Regions from separate parts of the Homo sapiens genome. Here all the other regions are linked to region 2. Evidence: promoter capture Hi-C in 16 types of primary human blood cells and fetal thymus (Javierre and others, 2016). All regions are on one chromosome and are shown on one strand. Each heading gives the region's core, a stretch centred on a gene start or on the middle of the fragment in contact. The rest is flanking DNA. Distances are from core to core; before and after follow the strand shown.

Region 1 (2,867 bases), core at 355-2,854, 300 kb before region 2:
ATGAGCTATGAAAAGACATGTAGGAAACTGAAGTGCGTATTACTATAGAAAGGAACCAATTTGAAATGGCTGCATCCCACATGATTCCAACAATATGGCCTTCTGGAAAAGGCAAAACTATAAGACAGCAAACGGATCAGTGGTTGCCAGGCATTAGTGGGGAGGGAAGGATGAACAGAGCACAGAGGGTTGTTAGGGCAGTGAAATTACCCTGTGTGATACCATAGTGGTGGATGCATGTTGTTATATTAATATATTTGTCCAGGCCAGGTGTGGTGGCTCATGCCTGTAATCCCAGCACTTTGGGAGGCTGAGGTGGGCAGATCACCTGAGGTCAGGAGTTTCAGACCAGCCGGGCCAACCTGGCAAAACCCCGTCTCTACTAAAAATACAAAAATTAGCCGGGCATGGTGGCGCACACCTGTAATTCCAGTTACTCAGGAGGCTGAGGCAGGAGAATGGCTTGAACCCAGGAGGTGGAAGTTGCAGTGAGTCAAGATTGTGCCACTGTGCTCCAGCCTGGGTGACAGAGTGAGACTCTGTCCAAAGCCACAGAATGTACAAGACTGAAGCCAAAAGTAAATTATGGACTTTGGGTGATAAAGATGTGTCCGTATATATACATCAGTTGTAACAAATGTGGGAGATGTTTGCTTTACATGTTCTTGTGGGAGATGTTGATAGGGAGGGAAGAGGCTATGCATGTGTTGGGGCAGCTGGTATATGGCAAGTGTCTGTATTTCCTCAATTTCCTATGAACCTAAAACTTCAATACCCTTCTCAGCCCCTGAGAAAGTAAAAACAAAACAAAATCATAAAAATTCTCAGCAAATAAAGAATAGATGGGAACATCTTCAACCTGATGAAGGGCATCCATGAGAAAAAAAATGCAATGGATATCATATTTAGTGAAATATTGACTACTTTGCCCCTAAGATCAGGACCAAGGCAAAGATGTTTGCTCTTACCACTTCTATTCAGCCTTATACTGGACTAGAGTTCTGGCCAGTGCAATAAGGCAAGAAATAAAAAGGCATAAAGACTAGAAAGGAAGAAATAAAACTCTTTACAGATGACATGATTATGTGGAAGATCCTAAGGAATCCTAAAAATAAATTATTAAAATAAAAGTGACTACACCCAAGTGGATTTGGCAGGGTCACAAGATACAGTCAATGTACAAAAATCAATTGTATTTTTATATACAAGGAACAATTTTGAAAATAAAAAAAATCACAAAAGTGTCAAATACTATTGATACGAAATACTTAGGAATTTAACAGACTACACGTTAAGACCTCTACTCTGAAAACGGCAAAAGCACTGGTGTGAAACAGAAGGCCATTATAGAAATATATATCATGTTCATGCATTGTACGACTAAATACTGTTAAGATAAAAATTCTTCCGAAATTCATCTATAGATCCTATCATAATCCCAGCAGGTTTTGGGGTAGAAATTGACTTGACAAGCTGGCTCTAAAATGTTATGGAAACACAAAGGACCAAGAACATGTAAAGCAATCATGGAAAAAAACCAAAATTGGAAGACTTACACTGCCTTACTTCAAGACTTACTATAATAGTGCTCATGTAGCACTGGCATAAAGATAGACAAATAGAGCAATAAAACAGAAGTGAGTGCATACATAGACCTTACAGTTATACAGTCATTTGATTTTTGATAAAGGTACCAAAGCAATGCAATGGGAAAAGTCTTTTCAACCAATGTTACTGGAACGACTGGATAGCTGTATGGAAAAGCAATCTAGGGGCAGGGGTTGGGGAGATGTACAACACGGTGACTCTACTTAATGTATTATTGAAAATTTCCTAGTATATAAAAATACAATACAAAAGAATTTAAAGAAGAAAAAGTTATTGAAAATTGCCAACAGAAGATTTCAAGTGTTCTCACCACAAAAAACTGAGACAATGCATAATTAGCTCAATATAGCTATATACCTACAGCTAATGTAAAGGTAATATATACATATTTCAAAACATGCTGTACATGATAAAAACTTACACATTTTATATACAAAGTGAGACTATATTTGTGACATGGGCATGGTCCAATATTTCTTTGGGCATAGAGAACATTAAGACATTAAGAAAAAGGATATCAAACCACAGACTTGGAGAAAGTACAAAACATATCTGACAAAGGACTTGTATCCAAACATTTTGGATGCAACTCTTATTACTCAAAAAAACCTAACAACCCAAACAACATACACAAAGCAAACAACTCAACTGGGGGAGAAAAAGGCAAAAGATTTGGACACTTCACAAAGAAAGATATATGAATAGTCAATAAAGCACATGAAAAAGTGCTCATATGTCATTAGGGAAATACAAATTGAATCCATGCTGAAATACCACTGTATACCTGTCAAAATGGGTAAAATTAAACATTGACAACTCCAGATGGTTGTGGGGAAGAAAAGCAACCACAACTGTCATATGCTGTTTTAGGGAGTGTAAATGGTCCAACCATTTTAGAAAAAAGGCCTTTCACCCAGCAATTTCCCTCCTATAGGCCTTTACCCAAGAGAAATGACAGTACGTCTACACAAACACTTGTTGACAGCAGCTTTATTCATAATAATTCCAAAGTGGAATGCTCTGTACTCACAGTGGAGTACTATCTAGCTATAAAAAGCAACCAACTACATGCAACATGGATTACTCTAAAAAATACTATGCTAAATGGAAGAAGCTCTATACAAAGGACTAAATACTGAATGGCTCCATTTTTAAGTTGCATTCTGAAAACAGGCAAAACTGATTTCTGGTGGAAAATAACTGGTTGTTCTGGGGCTTGAGGTATGCGGTGGGGATGACTTGGAAGTGGCATGAAGGAA
Region 2 (2,788 bases), core at 105-2,604:
ATCTTTGGAAAGTAACTATGAGAAAGCACAGAGGGATATGTTAGTGAAATAGCCATTTTCTTGTGGGAAGCAAGACATTTCGGTTATCGACTACACAGAAGAGTGAATAAAACCCAACGCCTATCAACCACCAAACGTGACTCTGCTTGCATAATCATACAAATAAATTTTCTTTAAAAATTTTTCATGGGTGCAGTATATAAAATGATCAATAGTCTCATCAGCAGTGGAACTACAAACTGCTTTCTCCTAACTTTGTGTAGCCTGGGTGCTGCCTCACGATTACTAAGTGGTTTAAAATCATATCCCACTTGCTCCTTGGTTTATCAGCGAAAGACGTGATTCCCAGGTAGGAAAACGCCAAGTGTCCCGCAAAGGTACAGGTAAAACGTAGCAGTTACTGCGAGAAGACTGGCCCCGGGGAGTCCCAGGGCTCGGTCGGGGCCCCCGCACGAGCTGAGGAAGTGGACAGCGGGCACCTTTGTCTGTGCCTAGTTCCCTGGACCCGGGCCGAGCGATGCGGGTGGGGGCGCGGTTCGGGCGGGTCCCGGCGCTGCCCGGGGGAAGCGCGCGGCGACGGCGGCCCGGCTTGGGAGCCGGAGGTCAGCGGCTGCGCGGCCGGCCCCCTCCCACGGGAGCCGCGCCAGGGCCCAGCAAGAGTCGGGCGGGATCGCTATTGTTTTTGGCGAGCACATAAATCCCCGGGCCGACCCACTGCGCACCCAGGTTTCCTCCCGGAGGCCTTTCGGTTTCCTCTGAGGCCCTATATAGAGGCTCCAGGCCCGGACTGTGCAGAGGTGCGCGCCCACGCCGGCCTCCCGGACCAGCCTGAGCTCGGAGCGCCTCTCGCCCTCAGGTCTCTGCAGCCAGAGGCATCTGGGGAGGTGAGGGGGGAATTTGTCCCCGAGGCGAGGAGGAGGAGGCGGGGGCGCGCGGAGCCGAGGGGCTGCGGCGAGCGGGCGGGAGGAGCAGGAGGATCCGCTTCTCCGGGGTTTCCCTGACGCCAGCAGCAGCGCCCGGCGCGCGCGCCCCGCACCCGTCAGCGGCTCCGGGGAGAAGGGGGAGGGGAGCGGGCCCGCCACGGCCCGAGAGGCGGCAGCCGGGATTGGAGCGGGGGCGGGCCGCGCGCGGAGCCGAGGGGGTGCGGGCGAGGCGCGCGCGTGCGCGTGTGCGCGCCCGGGACTCCCGCCCCCCGCCCCCGCCCCCGCCCCCGCCGTCCGCGGTCTCCGCCCCCCTCGCGCTGGTGTGTGGAGCCGGAGTCGGCGGCGGGTGGCGGCGCCTGGAACCTGGAGACCGACCCACCGCCCCCCCCCCCCCGCCCCGGAATGTACTGACTCCCCTTCTTCGCTCTCCTCCCCTCCCCGCCCCCTTGCAGGAGGGAGGCGCCCTGGAGTCTCCCCTCCAGCGAGAGGGGCTGCGCGGGCCGGGCCGGGCCGGGCTGGGCTGGAGCAGCGGCGGCCGCGGGAGCCGAGCTTGCAGCGAGGGACCGGCTGAGGCGCGCGGGAGGGAAGGAGGCAAGGGCTCCGCGGCGCTGTCGCCGCCGCTGCCGCTCACTCTCGGGGAAGAGATGGCGGCGGAGCGGGGAGCCCGGCGACTCCTCAGCACCCCCTCCTTCTGGCTCTACTGCCTGCTGCTGCTCGGGCGCCGGGCGCCGGGCGCCGCGGCCGCCAGGAGCGGCTCCGCGCCGCAGTCCCCAGGTAAGCGGCGGGCGCGGGCCCGGGGGTTCGCGGGGGCGCGGCACCGGCTCAGGCGGCCGCGGCTGCGGTGTTTTTGTTTAGGATCCAGGAGGAAACGTGCAGGAACTTCTCTGCCTCGGCTCCGGTTGCCGAAGAGAAAGGGGATCGCGCGTGGTGGGGAGGAGAAGGGCGAGAGGGGGCGCCACCGGGGAAGGGGCGGCTGCCGGGGGGCAGGTCGGGGGCGCAGGGGTCTAGTTCCCAGCTTTGTACCTGGAGGCAGGTTCACCCCTCGCCTCTCTCCCCTCCCCCAGGCTCATCCCACTTGTAAGAGTGGGACATTCTTGTGCTCACACTAGCACCAGTAGAGGCCACTACACACCTCATTAAATAAACAATCAGACGGCCAATTCATTAATTTTCAGGAAAGGAAAGGGGAGGGGGCTTGAGCTCCTGGTTCCCTGGCCAGGGATTTCCCAGCTTCCGAAGTCTCGAGGAAGAGCTGGCTAGTCTCGAGGGACTCCTCGCGCGGGGATTGGAGCCCGAGTCTGCGGAAGAGCGGGGGTGTCAGAGGGGCACAATTGCCCGCTCACAACCCCTGGTGTTGATTTAACGATGAGGACGCCTTGGAGAGCGGCTCGGAGTGATCGTATCTGTTAGTGTTTCCGTTATGAAATGCCTCTTCTTTCCTGGGGATTACAACTATATTTACAGCCTATTAACCACTCTTAACCAAGGGAATTGTCTAAGCATCAGATTTTAGGTACTTGTACAATGTTTTCAGATGGCATTGTATAAACATTGAACCTCAAAAGCCATTTTCAGTTCTTTTTTGGAATATTATAGATTACTGAAACCACCTGCATTCCTATTAAGGGGACCAACGAACAAAAATGCCAAGCCTTCCGGGAAGGACCTTACGGTATTGTTGAGCAGGATACACTCAGCAGTTGAAAGGCAAATTAGCATGTAATCTGTTAAAATTATTTGACCAAGGTGGTGTACCATAAAACTTGACAAAACTTTCACTCGTGTGAGATATGATATTTTTACATTTGAAAGCAGTCTTACCGCTGAACCAGTACTTGTTTTTCCCTGATTTATATGAAATAATA
Region 3 (2,963 bases), core at 169-2,668, 320 kb before region 2:
AAAATAGTGTCAAGTATGCTCTACTTATCTTCTAAAAGTGCACATTTGTTATAATAGACGTGTAACCCCTGCAGAAGGCAGATCATAGTGCTAGTAAAGCTTATGTGTTACTTAGGAAATTAGCAATGCCTCCACAACTATTGTCAAAAATAAATCTGCGGCCCGGCGCGGTGGCTCACGCCTGTAATCCCAGCACTTTGGGAGGCTGAGGTGGGCAGATCACGAGGTCAGGAGATCGAGACCATCCTGGCTAACACAGTGAAACCCCGTCTCTACTAAAAATACAAAAAAATTAGCCGGGCGTGGTGGCGGGCGCCTGTAGTCCCAGCTCCTCGGGAGGCTGAGGCAGGAGAATGGCGTGAACCCGGGAGGCAGAGCTTGCAGTGAGCTGAGATCACGCGCCACTGCACTCCAGCCTGGGTGACAGAGCGAGACTCTGTCTCAAAAAAAAAAAAAATAAAAAATAAAAAAAATAAATCTGCTGGGCATGGTGGCTTATGCCTGTAATCCCAGCACTTTGGAATGCTGAGGCAGGAGGATCACTTGAGGCCAGGAGTTCAAGACCAGGCTGGGCCACATAGTGAGACCCCCATTTCTACAAAAAAAATTATCCAGGCATGGTGGCACACACCTGTAGTCCTAGCCACTCGGAAGGTGGAAGAGGGAAGATCACTTGAGCCCAGGAGTTTGAGTCTACAGTGGGCTATGATGGCACCACTATACTCCAGCCTGGGTGACAGAGACCCTGTCTCTAAAAAGAAACAATAATTATGTTGAAATGACTTCTAGAGTCCTAATGATTTGATACTACAACTTTTTTTCTAGATGTGACTTTGGGAATGAGAAGGAATAGCATCAAATGGATGAACATCATTGAGGAGATGCAGCAAGACAAGCTGTTTATTAAAGGATACAAACTGAATTCTGATTTAGGAAGTAACATTAGACTGTCAGCTCCCACCTTGATACCTTTCCTTAGAGAAATGAAAGGGCTGGGCTGATGAAGCCTAAAGCTGACTCGCCCTCTGTTCTACGGTAGAAAGAAATTTACCTTAAGTAGCCACGTACAGGTGTATTTCAGGTATCTAGAACACTTGGTATACCAAATAGGGGCTGCAGAGAACAGATTAAAGGAAGTTTTTACTTAAAGGGCTCTGGTATTCATTCTGAAATACTGACTTTCCTGGCTAGAAGTAGGAAACAGATGGGTAAAGCAAGTAACATTTTATCTTTTTTTTTTTTTTTTTTTTTTTTTTTTTTTGTGCTGTGCCAGAGAGCCACAGTGTAGAGTGCAAGGACATTCCTCAGGAACATTTGTCCCAATAGGTTGGATATATTTATGTCCCTGGAAGAAATTTTCCAGTCCCATCTATGCTGATGGGCCTGCTGAGTATAGACTCAGGAAAGCTGCCCCACTGCTACAGCCTTTTGGGAATGACTGAATGACTTTCTCTGTGCCATGTTTTCAGGCCATCTTGGCAGCAGGCAGCATGATGCAGACCCACGGGGACTTTGATGTTGCCCTCACCAAATACAGAGTTGTGGCTTGTGCTGTTCCAGAAAGTCCTCCACTCTGGAATAACATTGGAATGTGTTTCTTTGGCAAGAAGAAATATGTGGCGGTGAGTGTCCCCTCATGTTCTTTGTTTGTATTTCTACATGTGGTTATTGGGTCTGTTTAGCTTGCCCTTCTCATTGAGTGCCCCTTCTCTCTCATAGGCCATCAGCTGCCTGAAACGAGCCAACTACTTGGCACCCTTTGATTGGAAGATTCTGTATAATTTGGGCCTTGTCCATTTGACCATGCAGCAGTATGCATCAGCTTTTCATTTTCTCAGTGCGGCCATCAACTTCCAGCCAAAGATGGGGGAGCTCTACATGCTCTTGGCAGGTAAGAAACATTTATGTGGAAAACTCTCTCTGCCATCTGTAATGAGGGAAAAATGGATTAGAATCATAGAAGATCAGTGGCTGTCTCATAGGAGCCATTCCCTTAGAGATCCTGTAGGAATCTGGATTACTGTCCTGGAGCTTGAAGAAATAGAAAAAGATGACAAAGGAACTTGGTTGTTTCTAACTTGGGGGAGTTTGACTCAGAGACCAACAGGTTAAATAAAGATCATCCCTAGTTCACCTTTTACCAGTTTTTTCCTCTTGCCTTGACAATTCATTTATGTATATATTGAGTCCAACTAAGTTCCAGACAGCAAGTGTTAAGAGCTTGGGTTTTAGGTAGGGTCCTGCCTCTACTACTTATTATATGTACCTAGGGCTGATGTGAGGATTGCATGATTAAGCTCTCAATTAATAATACTGGTTTTGTTGAAATACTGATTTTTGAAAACTGTTGGTTTTACTGTGGTTATATAATTGGTCTATTATTATCAATATTGTTGTTACTATAATTGGCCCCTAGGTGATACTTCCAAGTCAAGCTACCTTATGTTGAAACCCTTATCTCTTCTGAGCATGTTATATAGAATGCCATTCTCTTCCTGAAACTCCATTTTATGCCATGCAAATACTAAAATTGATCATAAAAATAAGTTAAAATTAATCAAACACTTTAACAATTATGCACAACCATTTTAAAGTACTGACTAGTCTTTCTAGGAATTTTTTTCTCCATATACATTTACTTACTAAATGTAAGACCCAAAGCAGATTTCCATGTCCTCATTTGGCAGTCGTCTTCCAGTGGCTTTTTGTTCATTACTGTGGGTTCTTATTTAAAAGAGAAAGCTTGCAAAAGCAATTGTGGTTATTTGAGGGTTGCCTGAATACAAAGATAACTTTAAAAAAAAAACATAGGTTTTATTATTATTCAGATATGGTATGGGCAACAGATCAGAAGACATCTGCCACTGGAAAGATAGTCTGTTACAATTCCTGAGAAGGAGGGCATGCTACACCGTGCAGGGCCACATGGGGAAGCACCAGGTCAATCAGGAGGTAGAGGGAGC
Region 4 (2,780 bases), core at 163-2,662, 350 kb before region 2:
TAATAGGACAGTTGTGTACACTGAAATGTTCTCTAAAATATTTGATGGAACGAAAATTAGCTTTTGGACAGCTACATCTCCAAGAGTGTGAAATGACCTTCAGCACTGGATTTGGTGGATTTTCCTTTTTCTAATCCCTAGAGTTCCATTTAATGAGCGTTTGGGTTCTTGAGCTACCTTACAAATTGAACACTTTTTTCTCCAGCTTTCACTCAAGAAACACAAAACATGGCTTGTCCTTTTTTTTTTTTTTTTTTTTTTTGAGACTGGGTCTCACTCTGTCACCCAGGTTGGAGTGCAGTGCACAATCATGGTTCATTGCAACCTCTGCCTCCCAGGCTCAAGCAATCCTCCTAACTCAGCCTCCTGAGTAGCTGGGACTACAGGCTTGTGCCTCCACTCCTGGCTAATTTTTTTGTATTTTTTGTAGAGATGGGGTTTGTCCAGGCTGGCCTTGAAGTGCTGGACTCAAGTGATCCGTCCACCTGGGCCTCCCAAAGTGCTGGGGTTACAGGCGTAAACCACTATAGCTAGCCCTGATTGTCTTTTATTGTGAGATTTTAATAACAGCTAAGACTTGAAAATTAACATTTTATAAATTTTCTTTTAGACTACTTAGTGATATACTAAGTATCTAAGGTTTGTAATACTTAGTATAAACTCAAAAGGGTTCAGTGCCTCATTCTCTTTTACTCTTTCCCTTTAGTAGATAGGTGACAGAGGACTGGGTCATGCAGTTGAGACTTGGTCCAAGATGACTTAGTAAGCTACTTGTCCCAGAACTATTTATTTATTTACTTATTTTTGAGATGGAGTCTCGCTCTGTCGCCCAGGCTGGAGTGCAGTGGTGTGATCTTGGCTCACTGCAACCCCCGTCTCCTGGGTTCAAGCGATTCTTTTGCCTCAGCCTCCCGAGTAGCTGGGATTATAGGTGCCCGCCACCACTCCCGGCTAATTTTTTGTATTTTTAGTAGAGACTTGGTTTCATTGTGTTAGCCAGGATTGTTTCGATCTCCTGACCTCATGATCCACCTGCGTGGACCTCCCAAAATGCTAGGATTACAGGCGTGAGTCACCACCCCCGGACCCTGGAACTATTTATGACGGTGCACTTTATGCACTTAACACACTCACATGTCTTTAAGCTTGGTGACTCGTGTGGCTTTTTCGAAGGAGATTTGATTCTGGAAGTGGTTAAGTAGGATGTGAATGGCTAAGGTCTGGTCATTGGTGAAGCCTAGGGGAAGAAAAGAAAGGAAACACAAGTCTTAGAAGAATTTCAGATCGGCCCCAACGACTAGAAGGGTGGTTCTACTAAGAAAATGTGTGTAGTCAGAAAATGAAGAGTCAGTTGCTTAAAATTTTACTTTTTTTCTTGTTCCTGGCATGTAAAGTCATATCCATACTTTCTGTTATAATTTCTTCTTACAAATTCCATTGATAATCCCTATTCTTGGATAGCAATGAGCAGCATTACTTCTTTTTTATTTTTTTAAAAAAATTAAATTTTTTGTTGAAATGAGGGTCCTGCTGTATTGCCCAGGCTGGTATCAAATTTCTGGGCTCAACTGATCCTCCTGCCTCAGCCTCCCAAAGCGCTGGGATTACAGTTGTGAGCCAGTGTGTCTGGTTGTACCTTTTAATTTTTGTGTTCAGGCAACATTAACTCTGAGTCACAGTAAGCTTTTTTTTTCTTCCTGTCATATTATGGACATAGAAGTTTTTTGGTTTTCTTTAGATTGTTTCTCCTTAGGTTGCAGAACATCAAGAAATGGATTACAGTCATTTTCCTCTCTTCCCCATGCTCTTCCCTTTCTTTTCCTTTTTTCTTTTCTTTTTTTTTTTTTGGAGACAGAATCTTGCTCTTTGGCCGAGGCTGGAGTACAGTGTCATGATCTTGGCTCACTGTAACCTCCCCGCACCAGGTTCAAGTGATTCTGGTGCCCAAGCCTCCCTAGTAGCTGGGATGTCAGGATGCGCCACCACACCCTGCTAATTTTTGTATTTTTTTGTAGAGATGGGGTTTCACCATGTTGTCCAGGCTGACCTCAAACTCCTGGACTCAAATGATCTGCCCTCCTCGGTCTCCCAAAGTGCTGGGATTATAGGCATGAGCCACCACATCTGGCCTCTTTTCCATTTTTAAAAAGGACTGTCTCCAACATATTAAAATTCACAAAAAATAATATAAACACACATGTACTCACTGGCTAGGCTTAATAAAAAACATTTAGTCATGTTTACTTTAAAGCTTTTTATTTTTTTGAGAAATAGGCATTAAAGAGTTGAAGTCTCCTTTCTGTCTTTTCATAATTCTGTTCTTCCCTCTTCCTTCCTTGAGATCTTCACTATTCTTGGGTTAATTTGGATCTTTCTACTCCTTGTTACCACAGAAAAGTAATTCTTAATGAATTTGACCATATTTTAAACTTCTGATTTCAGTGGGCAGGTAACTCATTTTATGGTTTCTGTATTGTGAGCCATTTTCAATGACTCAACTAGATTTTTTTCATCGTTGACTTCTCATTTCTGGGCAACAGCATAATGTTCTCATTTGAGCTATTTCTAAAGATTGTGTTTAACTATTTAAAATATTTGTGGTACTCTGATCATCAGATGTGATTTTTTTTTTTTTTTGAGACGGAGTCTCACTCTTTCACCAGGCTGGAGTGCAGTGGCGCGATCTCGGCTCACTGTAACCTCCTTCTCCCAGGTTCAAGTGATGCTCCTGCCTCAGCCTCCCAAGTAGCTGGGACTATTGGTGCGGGTTACCACACCCG

Evidence for each region. The method cuts DNA at HindIII sites, captures the fragments that hold promoters and counts their contacts. A CHiCAGO score of 5 or more calls a contact.
Region 1: a fragment that was not itself captured here is called in contact with the fragment with the promoter of NEO1 in region 2 in 3 of 17 cell types (naive CD4 T cells, activated CD4 T cells and total CD4 T cells); the score reaches 7.4 in naive CD4 T cells.
Region 3: a contact is called between a fragment that was not itself captured here and the fragment with the promoter of NEO1 in region 2, in 3 of 17 cell types (total CD4 T cells, non-activated CD4 T cells and naive CD4 T cells). The highest score is 5.6, in total CD4 T cells.
Region 4: a contact is called between a fragment that was not itself captured here and the fragment with the promoter of NEO1 in region 2, in 1 of 17 cell types (endothelial precursors). The highest score is 5.5, in endothelial precursors.

What each region holds. Positions count from the first base shown.
Region 1 is chr15:72,745,957-72,748,823 of GRCh38, forward strand. No RefSeq gene overlaps it. Among named protein-coding and RNA genes, the nearest start is that of ADPGK-AS1, 35 kb to the right of the region's middle. The HindIII fragment of the contact is 6,810 bases long and covers 1-2,867 here.
Region 2 is chr15:73,051,109-73,053,896 of GRCh38, forward strand. It overlaps NEO1 (neogenin 1), which reads left to right and starts at 1,355. Exons shown (of 29, transcript NM_002499.4): 1 at 1,355-1,697. The coding sequence starts at 1,568. RefSeq lists silencers at 475-524, 585-654, 745-1,064, 1,295-1,674. The HindIII fragment of the contact is 4,913 bases long and covers 1-2,788 here.
Region 3 is chr15:72,729,836-72,732,798 of GRCh38, forward strand. BBS4 (Bardet-Biedl syndrome 4) reads left to right here. Exons shown (of 16, transcript NM_033028.5): 11 at 1,470-1,622; 12 at 1,720-1,891. Among named protein-coding and RNA genes, the nearest start is that of BBS4, 45 kb to the left of the region's middle. The HindIII fragment of the contact is 2,643 bases long and covers 98-2,740 here.
Region 4 is chr15:72,705,349-72,708,128 of GRCh38, forward strand. The region is part of intron 2 of BBS4 (Bardet-Biedl syndrome 4); the gene reads left to right. Among named protein-coding and RNA genes, the nearest start is that of BBS4, 21 kb to the left of the region's middle. RefSeq lists a silencer at 1,036-1,236. The HindIII fragment of the contact is 538 bases long and covers 1,144-1,681 here.